5 separate regions of the Homo sapiens genome follow, and regions 2, 3, 4 and 5 are each linked to region 1. Evidence: promoter capture Hi-C in 16 types of primary human blood cells and fetal thymus (Javierre and others, 2016). All regions are on one chromosome and are shown on one strand. The core of a region is centred on a gene start or on the middle of the fragment in contact, and the rest is flanking DNA. Distances in the headings are between cores, read along the strand shown.

Region 1 (2,690 bases), core at 64-2,563:
ATACCAACAAACAGTGTGCTGCATGTCAGGCAAATTAAAACTTCTAGCCTGGAGGAGGCTGTAATCGTGTTTGCGGTTAGTCTGAAAACAAGCTACACTGAACTTCTATCTCCCAGGAAAACAGTCGAGTGTGGACTGAAGTCAAAAATGAGTATTTTTAGCAAGCATTCTCTCTCTTCCGTTTATTTTCTTCCTTCTTCTGTCTTTAGATATTAGAAACGCTAATTACATGAAGTATCATTATTATTCGAAGAAAGCACAGTTAGAAGGGTTAAAAATAAAAAGATGCCAAACCAACAGAAGCAGTACAATCCTAAGGAGGAATATATTTTAATTTTTCCCTGTACCCACGAGGTTCAGTTTGTGGGTCCAAGGGACCCAACCCCAATACCCAGTGAATGGTCATACCTGCAGGAAATATTTGGGCCAGTGTGGTGGCCCCCGCGGCTGTGGCCCCGTGGCCTGGCTCCTTGCCTTCCAGGGCAGGAGGGGACTCCGGGCTGCAGGCACAGGCTAAGGTCCGAGCTGAGGTACCAGGGAGCGGGGAGGGACAACAGCCCAAATAACAGCAGTCAGAAGGAGGAGGGAGTCCGGGAGCGGGAGAGAGACACAGAGACCCCGAGGGAGGCGTGAGGGGCGCAGAGCTGGTGGCCCGGGTCCGAGAGGTCGAGGGGCCGCGCGCGGGTGAGAACGAGCCCCGGCCCCCGCCCTCGGAACTGAGTCGATATTCCTTTTTTTGCTGTTTGAGTTTTCTCTTTAGAGTCGGACCCCGGTCCCAGCAGCAGTCTCAGAACAGAGGGGAGCCGAGGAGTCCCTGCCGGGAGGCCATCCCTCTGCGGGCCCCAGGGCGCCCCTGGGGGCGGCCAGGGCGGGCGCGGGGAGATGGGGAGGCGCCGAGCGGCCCTGGAGATGCCCGCGTCCCGGGGCGCCCGCAAACTTTCCCAGACACGGCGGGAGGCCCCACCCTGGAGAGGGGGGGTCCCAGGCCTCCCGTCTCTGTCCCCTGGGGCTGGTCACTCACCGGCAGCGCGGTTGGGGCTCCGATTCTGGCCGCAGCCAGCCACACCAGGAGGCGGAGGAAGAGGAGGGGGAGGAGGAGGGGGAGGAGGAGGGGGAGGAAGACCCGGGGCCGCCGAGTGGAGGGCGGGGAGGGGCGGCCGCGGCGCAGTGACTCCTCCCGCTCCCGCCCCCGCCCCCGCCCCTCCTCCCCTGCTGAGCCTCCCTTCTCTCTTCACGCCTTCTTTCTCACCCCGAATCCCCCAAAGTTTTTCTGGTGTCCGACGCTCCGTTCTCTTCCCTCCAGCGCATCTTCTGTCCCCGAGTCTCCAGCCTCCCAGAGGAGGGGAGAGCGCTCCCTCCTGCAAAAGTCGGGGGGCGGGGGCGGTAAGTCTATGAGTTACCTTTCGATGCCCTCTTGAAGCAGATAGCTTGGACCCGTGGAAGGTCTGAAGCCACCCAGCACCCCCAGACCTTGTCCTCACCTCTGGGTGGGGATGATGGAGGGCCTTTGCGGTCGTGCTTTCTAAGTTGCTTCATGGAGTTTTGTTTTGTTTTGTACCCCCCGCCTCACCCCACCCCCACCCCCCACCCCCCACCTTGTAATTAGGAGAACTAAAGAATTATATTTGAAAGGTAAAGATGAAGCCCCACCTTCCTGGGCGAATCAATCATAGCAGGAGGAAGGACACAAGATAGTTTAGTGAGGGCCAAGCTGTGGGGGTGGGGAGGAGGTAAACGCGTCCAGATGCCTCCTCTTTGCTGCCTCAAGAGTGCATGGAGAGGGAGAAGGGGCGTTGTCCTCCCAGGAGAGGCTGCAGGGTGTCTCGTAGTCCCTATTCCATCGCCTGCTGGCAAATGACTCCAGGCAAGTCACTTGGCATCTCAGCCTCTTCCTCAAGGGGGGCTGCCTCACTGGGAGCCAGTCAGAATGAAGGCACCCTCCCCACCCCTTTACCCTGGAGAGACACCAAAACCCAGGACGAGAGACTGAGCTGAGTTTGAACAGGCTCAGAGGGGAGAGAAGAGGGCATTTTAGGCCCCATGGCATGGTGCTTTGGAGGTTGGCAAGACTGGAAGGCTTAGGGTAAGTGGGCAATGTTTAGATGGGAAGGTGGAGCTGGGCATGAAGCAGAATACAGGAAATCTCTGAAAGTTTTCAAGCGAAGGTGTAGAGTAGGCACTCAGTGAATCCTTGAGGATTCAAAATGGCAAATAAGAAATATTGGTTTAACAGTCCTGTAGGATGGACCACCTAGGAAGAAAGGGGTTGCATCCAAAGAGAGGGGTTAGGAGGCCCCGGTGAGCATCTCAACTTGAAGTACTATGCTGGAAGGTGGAAAGGCAATGAATTATTTTTTAATCGTAAATTTCCTTGAGGAGCTGGGCTAACTCATAGGCAGTGCACCCAGGGTTGGTGAAAATCAGTGGACACTTCTTTGTATTTGCACAGCAGTGTAATTCTTTTTTAAATGTTCTGTCAGGTGTAGCCTTGTTTTTGACCTTGGAGTTCGCTGGTGAAATGGAAATATAGTCAGTACCCTATTTGACCTCCAGCCAGTGTTAAGAACCTGCCCTCGGGGCTTTGAGGAAGGAAACTGACGTTCCAGGAGGGCACTCCTCGAGCGCCTGAAATCACACAGCCAGGATCTATTTAGGATACTTTTATTCTCAGATAAAACTACTAATTGTGC
Region 2 (2,690 bases), core at 94-2,593, 750 kb after region 1:
TATGAAGCCCTCAGCCCAGTGCTTGGCACGCCATACGTATTCAATAAATTGGACAGTTATACAAATAAATCACCAACTGGCCAGGGACAGTGGCTCACACTTACAATCCCAACACTTTGGGAGGCCAAGACAGAAGGATGACTTGAGGCCAGGAGTTCAAGACCAGCTAGCAACATAGTGAGAACCGCCTCCTTCTCTACAAAAACATTTAAAAAATTTAGCCAGGAGTGGTGGCACGTGCCTATAGTCCTAACTACTCTCTACTCGGGAGGCTCAAGGCAGGAAGATTGCTTGATCCCAGGAGCTTGAGGTTGCAGTGAGCTATGATCAGGCCACTGCACTCCTACCTTGAGACCCTGTCTCAGAAAAAAAAAACAAAAACAACACACACACACACACAAAACAGAAGAAGAAAACAAGTATTCTCCAGAAGAATACAGTGCCCTGTGTTCCCCCCTTTGCCCGTCCAAGGAACAGCGTGACCCAGCAATCTACGTCTTTGTCCTGGGCCTTGGGAGATAAAGTCAAGGATGAAGAAAGGAGGGGCATGTTTTGTGAGGGTTCCGTCCTAGCCCAAGCAGCTCACGATCACCAGGGACAAGCCTGTAGTCTGCCAAAGTCAGGGTTTGTTTTGCTGGTTGCAACGGGGGAGCCTCCACAGCAGACGAACCATGGGGGTGTCTCACCAAACTACAAAAGGGAGGGAGAGGGTGGAGTTTAGGATAAATTTACCTGAAACAGTGTTTTGAAAGCTCAAATCTAGCTGTGTGTAAAGACAAAGCTAAACTACAAAGTCCACCCAAGGTCGCATTTCCTTGGAAACAGCAAAGTTAAGATAGATGTGGAATAGCGTCCACAAATCCCGTATCTAAAGTTACACACCTGGGTTGTAAATCAAAGCTGTTTCTGTGTCAAAGTAAGACGCTCCAGGCAAGAGTGGGATGTTTCATTTTTGCTGATATAATTTCAAACAGCAAGGCAAGGGGAGGTGGCTTACGCCTGTAATCTCAACAGTTTGGGAGGCCGAGGTGGGAGGATTCCTTGAGCCCAGGAGTACAAGACCAGCCTAGGCAGCAGAGTGAGACCCTTTCTCTACAAAAAAAAAAAACACAAAAATTAAAAATAAACCAGCTGGGCATGGTGATGCATGCCTATAGTCTCAACTACTGGCGATGTTGTGGAAGAATCACTTGAACCCGTGAGGCCGAGGCTGCAGTGAACCGTGATCGCACCATTGCATTCCAGCTTGGGTGACAGACTGAGACCCTGTCTCTAAATAAATAAATAATAACAATAATTTCAGCCAGCAAAGTTTCTGAAAGCCTATGACTTTAGAGAACAAGATTTCTGAGATTGTCAAGAGTAAAAAAAAGTTTTCCTTATGCTACTTTGGGATGGCAGTTTATCCTTGGGACAGATTGTGTTTCCTGTTTAACTTTGTAGCTGACTTTATCTTTGTTATCCCAGCCAGATGAATGGCCTGGAATGTTTCAGATTTCTCATTCCTTGCTTATTTTAACTTTCTCAATTCTCAGGAAAAAGGAGGGGAGAAACTTTGTGCAAGTCAGGTGGAAAGAAATAGCACTTGCACTCTGCCTTTGGTCAGCAAGGGTACAGAAATCAAAGCCTCTTGTGTACTCCCCTAAGTACCAAAGGTGTGGTGGAGGCTCTGGGAGGATGGCTGGGGAAGACAGACCCAGAGTCCACTTGGAGAGAGGAAAGATGGGCCTGAGGGCTTCCATAGCCTGGAGGCACTCCCTTCCCCCACTCCAGCTATCTTCTCCATCCTGTGACTAACATCCATTATTATTTTATTTTTTGAGCCAGGGTCTGGCTCTGTCACCAGTGGTGCGAACATGGCTCATTGCAGTCTCAACCTCCTGGTCTCAAGCAGTCCTCCTGCCTCAGCCTCTAGAATAGCTGGGACTACAGGCATGCTACTACCATGCCTGGCTAATTTTTAAAATTTTTTTTGTAGAGATGGGGTCTCCCTATGTTGCCCAAGCTGGTCTCAAACTCCTGAGCTCAAGCAGTCCTCCCACCTCAGCCTCCCAAAATGCTGGGAATACAGACATGAGCCACCTCGACTAACTGGCTGGAAACTTTCATTATCTCAGACCACAAATGGCCCTGGGGGATAGAGAGATGGGGAGGGCTAGCACCAGTATTTCTCTAGCTCTCCAAAGCCATCCTAGGTGGAATTGCCAGGTACTTTTCTAATATGGTCTCAGCCTCTGATCTCCAAAGTCTGGCCCCAGTCTTGCTTCCCAACTGACTGGCCATTCCTGCCCTCTGCATTCACTGTTCTGGGATCAGCCCTGCTCTGAGGCCACGCAGACCTGTTCTCAATCCTGGCAACCTCAGGTACAGGTTGGGCACCCTGGGTAAATTTTTTGCACTTGAGCCTTGGTCTCCTAATCTGATAAATGGGGATTCACTAATATTTGCTTATGGAGGTATTGGGAGGATGGAATGAGATGAAGTGAAAACTGCTGCCAGGCGTCTAATGTATGCACTATAAATATAAATCTTTCCCTTCCCCTCAGGCTGCTTTTGCCCCCTTTGCCATTTCACAATGAGCCAAAGTATGATGGAACTGGATAAGCCCTGTGGGGAACCACTCAGAATCCCTGATTTGGTGTATAAAGATTATTTTAGGCTGAAGACATTTGAGATTCAACAGATGCAGA
Region 3 (2,690 bases), core at 1-2,500, 730 kb after region 1:
TGAAGTCATACCTTTAAGCACCTGGGGTAACATCACCCCAATGCCATCACTTAGCTTTTCCCTAAAATATTCTTCCTCAAGGAGAGTTCTCAAAGTTTTGGATGCATCCCAAAACTGGGAGCCGGGTATCAGACCTTCCTGAAGAGAACAGGACAATGAACTCTTTAGAATTGTTTTAGTTTCCTTTGAGAGATTTCCTTTTTCAAATAAAACTTGTACTGGGGGATAGTGTGCCACTAGAGTCCTAAATCTCGAACAATGGCGATCATCTGAAAACTGACCTATGAAAAACTTTCCCAGTGAAGTATCAACAAAGCACACACCATATGCACGAGTATGGCCAGAAGAATCTTCCTCTTTTTCTTTGAGGCTAAGAAGATACTTACTGTAGTTCTCAGAGGGATCACCTTCCAGCACACTGTAAGTCTGTGTACCCTTGGTAATGATCCTACAGATCTCCCTCCTCACCACTCTATCATACTTGGATATATGTGCCATCTTTCTACATCGTGCCTCCATCATTTCTGGAGTCTCAGTCTGTTCCACTCGTGCTACTTTATAGCCCTTCTGCACCAGGGAATCTGAATAACGGCCAAATGCAATTTCAGGAAAGCCAGAATGGGCCCAGTTGCCTTTCATGAATACCAGCCCCAGTTCACTGACTCCAATAAGAGCATCCATGTGGTACAGCTCATAAAATTTCCCCACCTTGTAACAGATGACAAGATCAAAGTTCTGAGACTTAATCTGCCACCACTTCCTCATCCCAGGAGTACAAGAATTGAGGAAATCCTCAGGCACATAGAGTGTAGATGCATCAAAATCGGGGTGATCAGGCCTCCTCCTGTGCTCATCTCTTCTCTTTTCCTCCTTAAGCCATTCTAAAGTTTCATGATACCAAACAGTAGGGCGACTACTGTCATCACCACCTCCACTAACGTGGGCTTGGGATTCAGAATTTTGAGGGGCAGAGAAAGCTCTCAAAGTATTCTTGGTTTCTGATGAAATGCTAGTTGCTTGTTTGGTGGCTGAGGGCGTTTCCTTCCTAGAGCTTTTCCTTTTAAGAGAGCCATTTCCAGTCACCATTCTCTTCCGCTTTCGAGCAACTTTGACAGGGCTGTTCAGGCCTTCACTCTCACTATCCCCCACTCCACTGCTTATTTCATCACTGCTTCCTTCCTCCTTAGTGTCTGGCTTAAATTCCACATCAGAGCCACCAATGTCACTCTCAGAATCTGATATGACCCTTCGTTTTTTTATTTGGCGGCTACTTCGCCTAGATCCTTGTGTCTTAGGCTGTACTTCCTCTTCACTCTCAATTTCATTATCTTCTTCACTCTTATCTGTTACGTAAGTTGTGCCTACCTGCCAGGCAAGGAAAGAGTATTTAAAAACAAATCAAAATTTGGAAAACCATAATGTAAGACAGTTCAACTTATGATTTTTTGACTTTATAATGGTACCCGTGCAGCCACTGTTTTTCATTTTTAGTACAGTATTCGATGAATTACATGAGATAGGCAATTCCTTATTATAAAATAGGCTTTGTGTTAGATGATCTTGCCCAACTTTAGGCTAACATTTAAGTGTTCTGAGCACGTCTGAGATAGGTTAGGCTACGCCCAAGCTACAATATTCGGTGGGGTAGGTGTATTAAACACGTTTTTAGTTTATGTAACCCCATCATAAGTTGTGGATGGGATAACCCCATCTGTACTACTGTAAATTCTCTTAATATGCTGCAACTTCATATGCCAAAAAAAGAACCCACCTCTAGAAATTAGAAACCTCTCAATGAACATCAACTTCAGTTTCACTTGACATTAAAACAATTGTCATTTTCCATGCCAATAGTTCTCCTGCAAACGTGGTGGAAAAAAAATCTCTGGACTTGCTGTAAGTGTAGCAGACACCAACCCCACAAAGTGACATAATACAAGAAGGGCAAGGATTCTCTGCCCAGGGAAAGCAGCATTATGAAGGAAGCAGAGTGGGTATGGGGGGTAAGTCGACTCTGGCTAAAAGACTAAAACTATAAAAAAGATTGTGCTGAGGCTTGAGTTTGAGCTCATGTGCAAAATCCAAGGGAATGCTAGCTATTAAGAGATGCAAGCATTTTGAACTGGGAGGAGGTAAGAAGAGACAGGCAAAGTGATCCAGTTCTAAGCCTCATCTTTTGTTTTACTATGAAGACAATAACATCTTGAGGTTATGTTCAAAAACACAAAGTGCTGCACCGAGCACAGTAGCAGGTGCCTGTGGAGAAAATCGCTGAGCCCAGAAGTTCAAGGCCAGCTCGGCAACATGGTGAGACCCCACCTCTAACTACAAGATTAAGTGATTGCTGCCATGGGAGTTCTATTTATGACAAAGCTGTTGGCATGACCATATATCATAAATATCAGGAGGCGATATGCTCATTAATAGCATAAGAAAGCAGTAAGCAACTTATACTGGTTCTAGTGTTTGCTCTTCCACAATTGGCTGTCTCATCTCAGGCCTAGCACATTCACATATCACGGATCTCCCGGATTATTTGTTAAACCAGTATTAGGCTAAATGATCTCTGTAGCTGCCATCCAGTTCTAGACCTCTGATAATGTTATGATCCTTAGTTTCAACCTTAAAATTAAAATACCCACTTTATTAACTTGCTCATTCCCTATCTTATCTATTGAAAAAGGAACAAA
Region 4 (2,690 bases), core at 82-2,581, 700 kb after region 1:
GAGGTATTGCTTAACAAAATAGTTGCATTCTATTAAAATACGTCTTGAAGCAGGCCGGGTTCAGTGGCTCATGCCTATAATCCCAGCACTTCGGGAAGCCGAGGCGAGCAGATCACTTGAGGTCAGGAGTTCCAGACCATCCTGGCCAACATAGTGAAACCCCATCTCTACTAAAAATACAAAAATTAGCTGGGCGTGGTGGCTCACACCAAAAGTCCCAGCTCCTCGGGAGGCTGAGGCAGGAGAATCACTTGAACCCAGGAGGTAGAGGTTGCAGTGAGCCGAAAGTGCGCCACTGCGCTCCAGCCTGGGCGACAGACACTCTGTCTCAAAAACAAAAACAAACAAACAAAAAAATCTTGAAGCAAAATTACATTAACTGAATCCATAATAAAAATAAGTTTTCTTGCAAAATTATAAAACTATAAGTCAATCAATCTTTGTCATTTCTAAAGGTAGTAAAATCATTGTTGTGCCAATGTAGAGGCTTCTCATTTTAAGGTCGTTGAGAAAAGAAAACTTTTTGCTGCTTTATTTTCTTGAAAGTTACTCTGAAACAAAAGATACAGATTATAAACTCCATATTTGATGGAATTAGGTGACATATTTAATCCTTAACCTAATTTATTAATACAATGTGGTAAATGACTGCATGCCTGTGACCAGGGCAGCCAACCAGATTGGAGCAGGTTAAAGCTCCAATAAAGCTGTTCAGAAAGATAAATTGGTAAACCTAATGTAAATGTAAATGTATTAAGAGGTGATTTATAGGAGATGATGCAGGAGAATCGCTTGAACTTGGGAGGCAGAGGTTGCAGTGAGCCAAGATTGGGCCACTGCACTCCATCCTGGGCAACAGAGTGAGACTCTGTGTCAAAAAAATAAATAAAAAGAAGAGGTGATTTGGACAACTAGCAACAAGTTTAGGATAGAGTTGTCACTAGAAAGCTAAGCAAAGGAGAAAAAAATCCAAAAAATTGTGCAGCAAAGAAGTCATATTTTATGGCTCAACTCTGAATAGCACACTAATCTAACCAAAATTAAGGTTAAACTACACTGAAAGGATACAATGTGTGAGTATATATTGTGGGGGATAGAGAGGTAGGAGAGCTAAATTCTGCTGTCCCATAATAGAAGTCAGTGGATAATACCTAAAACTGGAAAGTGAAGACTAAGTACAGTGAGTTACTTAATAAAATAGATGTGAATCAAAAGAATCAGCTAAAAGAATTAAAAGTGGGGCCCTCTGGATAAAGGAAATGAGGGAGAGGGCTGCTATTTGCCTTAAAAAACTTGTGGATCAGCTGGGCGCGGTGGCTCACACCTGTAATCCCAGCACTTTGGGAGGCCGAGGCGGGTGGATCACGAGGTTAGGAGATCGAGACCATCCTGGCTGACATGGTGAAACCCTGTCTCTACTAAAAATACAAAAAATTAGCTGGGCATGGTGGCGGCACCTGTAGTCCCAGCTACTCGGGAGGCTAAGGCAGGAGAATGGCGTGAACCCGGGACATGGAGGTTGCAGTGAGCCGAGATCGTGCCACTGCACTCAAGCCTGGGTGACAAAGTGAGACTCCGTCTCAAAAAAAACCAAAAAAACTTGTGGATGTACTTGAGTCTCTTAACTCTGTAAAATCAAAACCTAAAGAAAACAAAAAGATTATCCCTTGCATTTGAATACTGTTTAGTCAGTGTATATCAATTTTTTTTTACTGTATCACTGCATTCAGAGGTATCAAATTTTGCTTGCAGCGCTGTAAAAGTTTACCAGTCAGATTTGTCGGCCCGGCATGGTGGCTCACACCTGTAATCCCAGCACTTTGAGAGGCCAAGGCGGGAGGATTGCTTGAGGCTGAAAGTTTGAGACCAGCCTGGGCGACATGATGAAACTCCATCTCTACTAAAAACACAAAAATTGGCCAGGCTTGGTGCCATGCACCCGTGGTCTCAGCTACTTGGGAGGTTGAGTGGGGAGGATCGTTTGAGCCCAGGAGATTGAGGCTTCAGTGAGTGATTGCACCCTTGCACTCCAACCCAGACAACAGAGTGAGAGCCTGTCTCTAAAAAAAAAAAAAAAAAAAAAAAAAGAAGAAGAAGAAAAAATCCACCAGACATGTCATTCAACTCTTGGCAGAGAGAGACTAAGAGTTATACTAATTGTGCTCCCTCCTCATGGGTGAAAACATCTGAAATGGTGAATAATCTAGTATTAAGTTCTCTTTGTCTAGCCTCTTTTTGTTTTTTTGATGGTCAGTTTTGCCATAACAGTGTATTTATACACCCAGTGTGTATTCACTTTTATTCTGTATAAAATCAAAGAAAAAGTTTTATATTTGAAGACGCTATCTTTTATATAGCTCCTGATTTGTTTTAAAAAAGAATAAGGTTATAATCCAAATATAGAGATATAAGTTATAGATAATTTGTTCTTTATTAGAAAATGAAGTCTGAAAACTACTTTTGTATGTTATTCTTGGAGGCCTGTTTTCTTGAAGAGTTAAACATATAGTATACTAGAGTATTCAGAATATCCCCTTTTTAACCTCTACTAAATTTGGCAAAAAAAATTCATCAAATCCTGTTTGAGTACTTACTGTGTGTAAAGTCTTACATACATGCTCCAGAAGTTAGAATAGTCCAGACAGGAGCTTACAGTGGGGTAGAAATGGACATATATAAATATCGAAATA
Region 5 (2,690 bases), core at 191-2,690, 640 kb after region 1:
GTTTCAGTTAAGCAGGATGAATAAGTTCCGCCATACAGTATTGTACCTATAGTCAACAGTACTGTATTGTACACTTAAACATTTGTTAAGAAGGTAGTATTCATGTATGAGAATAAAGTAAAAAGTAATAGTTTTGGCAGTGGCTCATGCCTGTAATCCCAGCATGTTGGGAGGCAGAGGCAGGAGGATCGCTTGAGCCCGGGAGTTTGATACTAGTCTGAGCAACATAGGGAGACTCCATCTCTACAAAAAAAATTAAAAAAAAAAAAATCCCGGTATGGTGGCACATGCCTGTGGTCCCAACTGCTCAGGAGGCTGAGATGGGAGGATCACTTAAGCTCTAGAGGTCAAGGCTGCGGTGAGCTATGATTGCACCACTGCATTCCAGCGTGAGCAATAGAGCAAGACTGTGTCTCAATAATAATAATATTTTTTTTTTTCTTTTTTTTAGACAGGGTCTCGCTCTGTCGCCCAGACTGGAGCACAGTGGCCCAGTCTTGGCTCACTGCAACCTCTGCCTCCCGAGTTCAAGAAGTCTCCTGCCTCAGCCTCCCAAGTAGTTGGGGTTATAGGCGCTTGCCACCATGTCCAGCTGACTTTTTGTATTTTTAGTAGAGATGGGGTTTTGTCATGTTGGCCAGGATGGTCTCAAACTCCTGACCTCAGGTGGTCCACCCACCTCGGCCTCCTGAGTGCTGGGATTACAGGTGTGAGCCACCGTGCCCTGCCAATAATTTTATAATTCTGATTGTGTCGTGAACTCATACTACTTGATTGATGATACAGTCCCCATGTAGGGCATTTTAAATTTGAATAAAAGCTTAAATGTTACATATTTTTAATGTTGGAAGTGTGCTTTAAGTGCTTATTAATTTATAGACATCTATATTTTTATTCACAGCAACTTTAGGATGATAATTGACTATATTATTTCTAGTAAATGAGGATGACTGATAATCAGGAAGTCAGTTCAGAATTAAAATTAGTCCACTCACCATGGCTCATGCCTGCAGTCCTAGCATTTTGGAAGGATGAGGTGAGAGGATCCTTTAAGACCAAGAGTGCAAGACCAGCCTACCAACATACTGAGACCCTGTCTCTGAAATAAATAAATAAATAAATAAATAATAAAAATTAGCCAGGCCTGGTGGCATGTACCTGTAGTCCTAGCTACTCAGGAGACTGAGGCAGTAGGATTGCTTGAGCCCAGGAATTTGATATTTGGGACTCTGAACCAGTGATTCTTTCTTTCCAGGATAAGTTTGCGACTGTAGCATAAAATTCTTTTTGCGTCAGATAATTTGATTATGGTAGTAAATACGTACAAATGTTTTGCTCACAAGCCTGTTGAATGATGGAAGATGAAAAATTTAGTATGCAAATGTACTGGATAATTAGAAAAGAGGAATTTAATGTTGATCACAACAGGTGGCTATTTTTTCTGAAGGTACCCTAGTGGTATGGACTCATGTCTGTTTAATAATTTTATGTGGGGAATATTTTCTTTTCGTAAAACTTGAGTTTACCTGTGAAGAAATTAGTCACTGTCAATTTATTAGGTGTTGAAACAGATTGCTAAGGGAAATAATTTCATCATTATTGGTTAAAAAAAAAAAAACCCTCTCACTTTCTAAGAGGATTTCTAAGAAGAATGTGTTTGGGAATAAGTAATAACCATTTTTTTAAAAATGTAGGACTTTGAAACATGAATTTAGTTCTTAGATTTTTAATTGACTCATCTCACACTCACTTGATAAGTTGTCGGACCATCTTACAGGCTTCTTATAAACCTAAACCAAGAGAAAACAAGTGTTTTCCTGAGAAAGCACACTAGAAAACCTTCATTAAAGAGATCAACTAAATTTTGTTGCTTTTTGTTTTTTAATTGGAAGCTACTGATGTGGTTAAGGAAAAATCAGTAAGTATAGATTCTAGGGAATAGTCTACATGGTTCTATGAAGAGCCAATCACAGATTTATTTAATGTATTTCTCTGAAACAGTGGCTTTTAGTAGCTGAAGAAGGAAGAAAAGCAACATAACCGGATTTAAACAAAGCTTTTGTTTTTTCATGAAGCAGTCATATTGGTGTTATGTCAGTTGGGGGAGATTTTAGAAAGTTATGTTATGGAAACTGTAACTTATAAAAAAATACTGCTAACTTATAAAAAAAAGTACTGCTAGCCATTTGCACATAGACACTTAGTGAATGAATGTTTCTGTTTTCCTTCATCTTCTCTAGTCCAAGGTGTGTTCATATAATTACCTAATTTACATTATTGAGCATATTAAATATGTTCATAGATGATTAAAAACTGGGTGCGATTAAGTACTCAACCAAGAACAAATCAAATTACTTTGAATAACCTGTTTTTAAAAAAGCAGATGTGTTTTAATCTGTGTGGACAGAAAAAAAATGAGCAGACTCTTTGAACTGTCTAGCTAGAACCAAATATAGCAGATAGGGGCTACAGTTGAGGTTCTGAAGTGTGTGTGGTTTGGGTGCTTGGGTGTGTATAAACACATGATACTGTATCATAGCAATAAGATTTGTAAAACATTGCAATGGCTGAAAAACTGTCTAACAGGAAATTTTAAGTGTTATTCCAAAGAAGAACAAGCCTAAAAGTAAGTTAACCTTTCAGAGTGGTTGAAAGTAATTTTTAAAAGAAAAAGGTTGCTCAGCTATTTT

The links. The method cuts DNA at HindIII sites, captures the fragments that hold promoters and counts their contacts. A CHiCAGO score of 5 or more calls a contact.
Region 2: a contact is called between a fragment that was not itself captured here and the fragment with the promoter of STON1-GTF2A1L in region 1, in 1 of 17 cell types (activated CD4 T cells). The highest score is 5.7, in activated CD4 T cells.
Region 3: a fragment that was not itself captured here is called in contact with the fragment with the promoter of STON1-GTF2A1L in region 1 in 1 of 17 cell types (neutrophils); the score reaches 6.0 in neutrophils.
Region 4: a contact is called between a fragment that was not itself captured here and the fragment with the promoter of STON1-GTF2A1L in region 1, in 3 of 17 cell types (neutrophils, monocytes and total B cells). The highest score is 9.4, in neutrophils.
Region 5: a contact is called between a fragment that was not itself captured here and the fragment with the promoter of STON1-GTF2A1L in region 1, in 2 of 17 cell types (fetal thymus and megakaryocytes). The highest score is 7.7, in fetal thymus.

What each region holds. Positions count from the first base shown.
Region 1 is chr2:48,528,548-48,531,237 of GRCh38, reverse strand. It overlaps STON1-GTF2A1L (STON1-GTF2A1L readthrough), which reads right to left and starts at 1,313. Exons shown (of 11, transcript NM_001198593.2): 1 at 1,250-1,313. It overlaps STON1 (stonin 1), which reads right to left and starts at 1,084. Exons shown (of 4, transcript NM_006873.4): 1 at 1,022-1,084. RefSeq lists a silencer at 753-952 and an enhancer at 544-1,091. The HindIII fragment of the contact is 9,785 bases long and covers 1-2,690 here.
Region 2 is chr2:47,775,637-47,778,326 of GRCh38, reverse strand. No RefSeq gene overlaps it. Among named protein-coding and RNA genes, the nearest start is that of MSH6, 6.2 kb to the left of the region's middle. The HindIII fragment of the contact is 4,643 bases long and covers 1-2,690 here.
Region 3 is chr2:47,797,286-47,799,975 of GRCh38, reverse strand. It overlaps MSH6 (mutS homolog 6), which reads right to left. Exons shown (of 10, transcript NM_000179.3): 4 at 1-1,365. It also overlaps the pseudogene RPL36AP15. Among named protein-coding and RNA genes, the nearest start is that of MSH6, 15 kb to the right of the region's middle. The HindIII fragment of the contact is 3,395 bases long and covers 1-2,690 here.
Region 4 is chr2:47,824,969-47,827,658 of GRCh38, reverse strand. The region is part of intron 11 of FBXO11 (F-box protein 11); the gene reads left to right. Among named protein-coding and RNA genes, the nearest start is that of MSH6, 43 kb to the right of the region's middle. The HindIII fragment of the contact is 5,049 bases long and covers 1-2,690 here.
Region 5 is chr2:47,888,562-47,891,251 of GRCh38, reverse strand. All of the region lies in intron 1 of FBXO11 (F-box protein 11), which reads left to right. Among named protein-coding and RNA genes, the nearest start is that of FBXO11, 17 kb to the left of the region's middle. The HindIII fragment of the contact is 1,236 bases long and covers 823-2,058 here.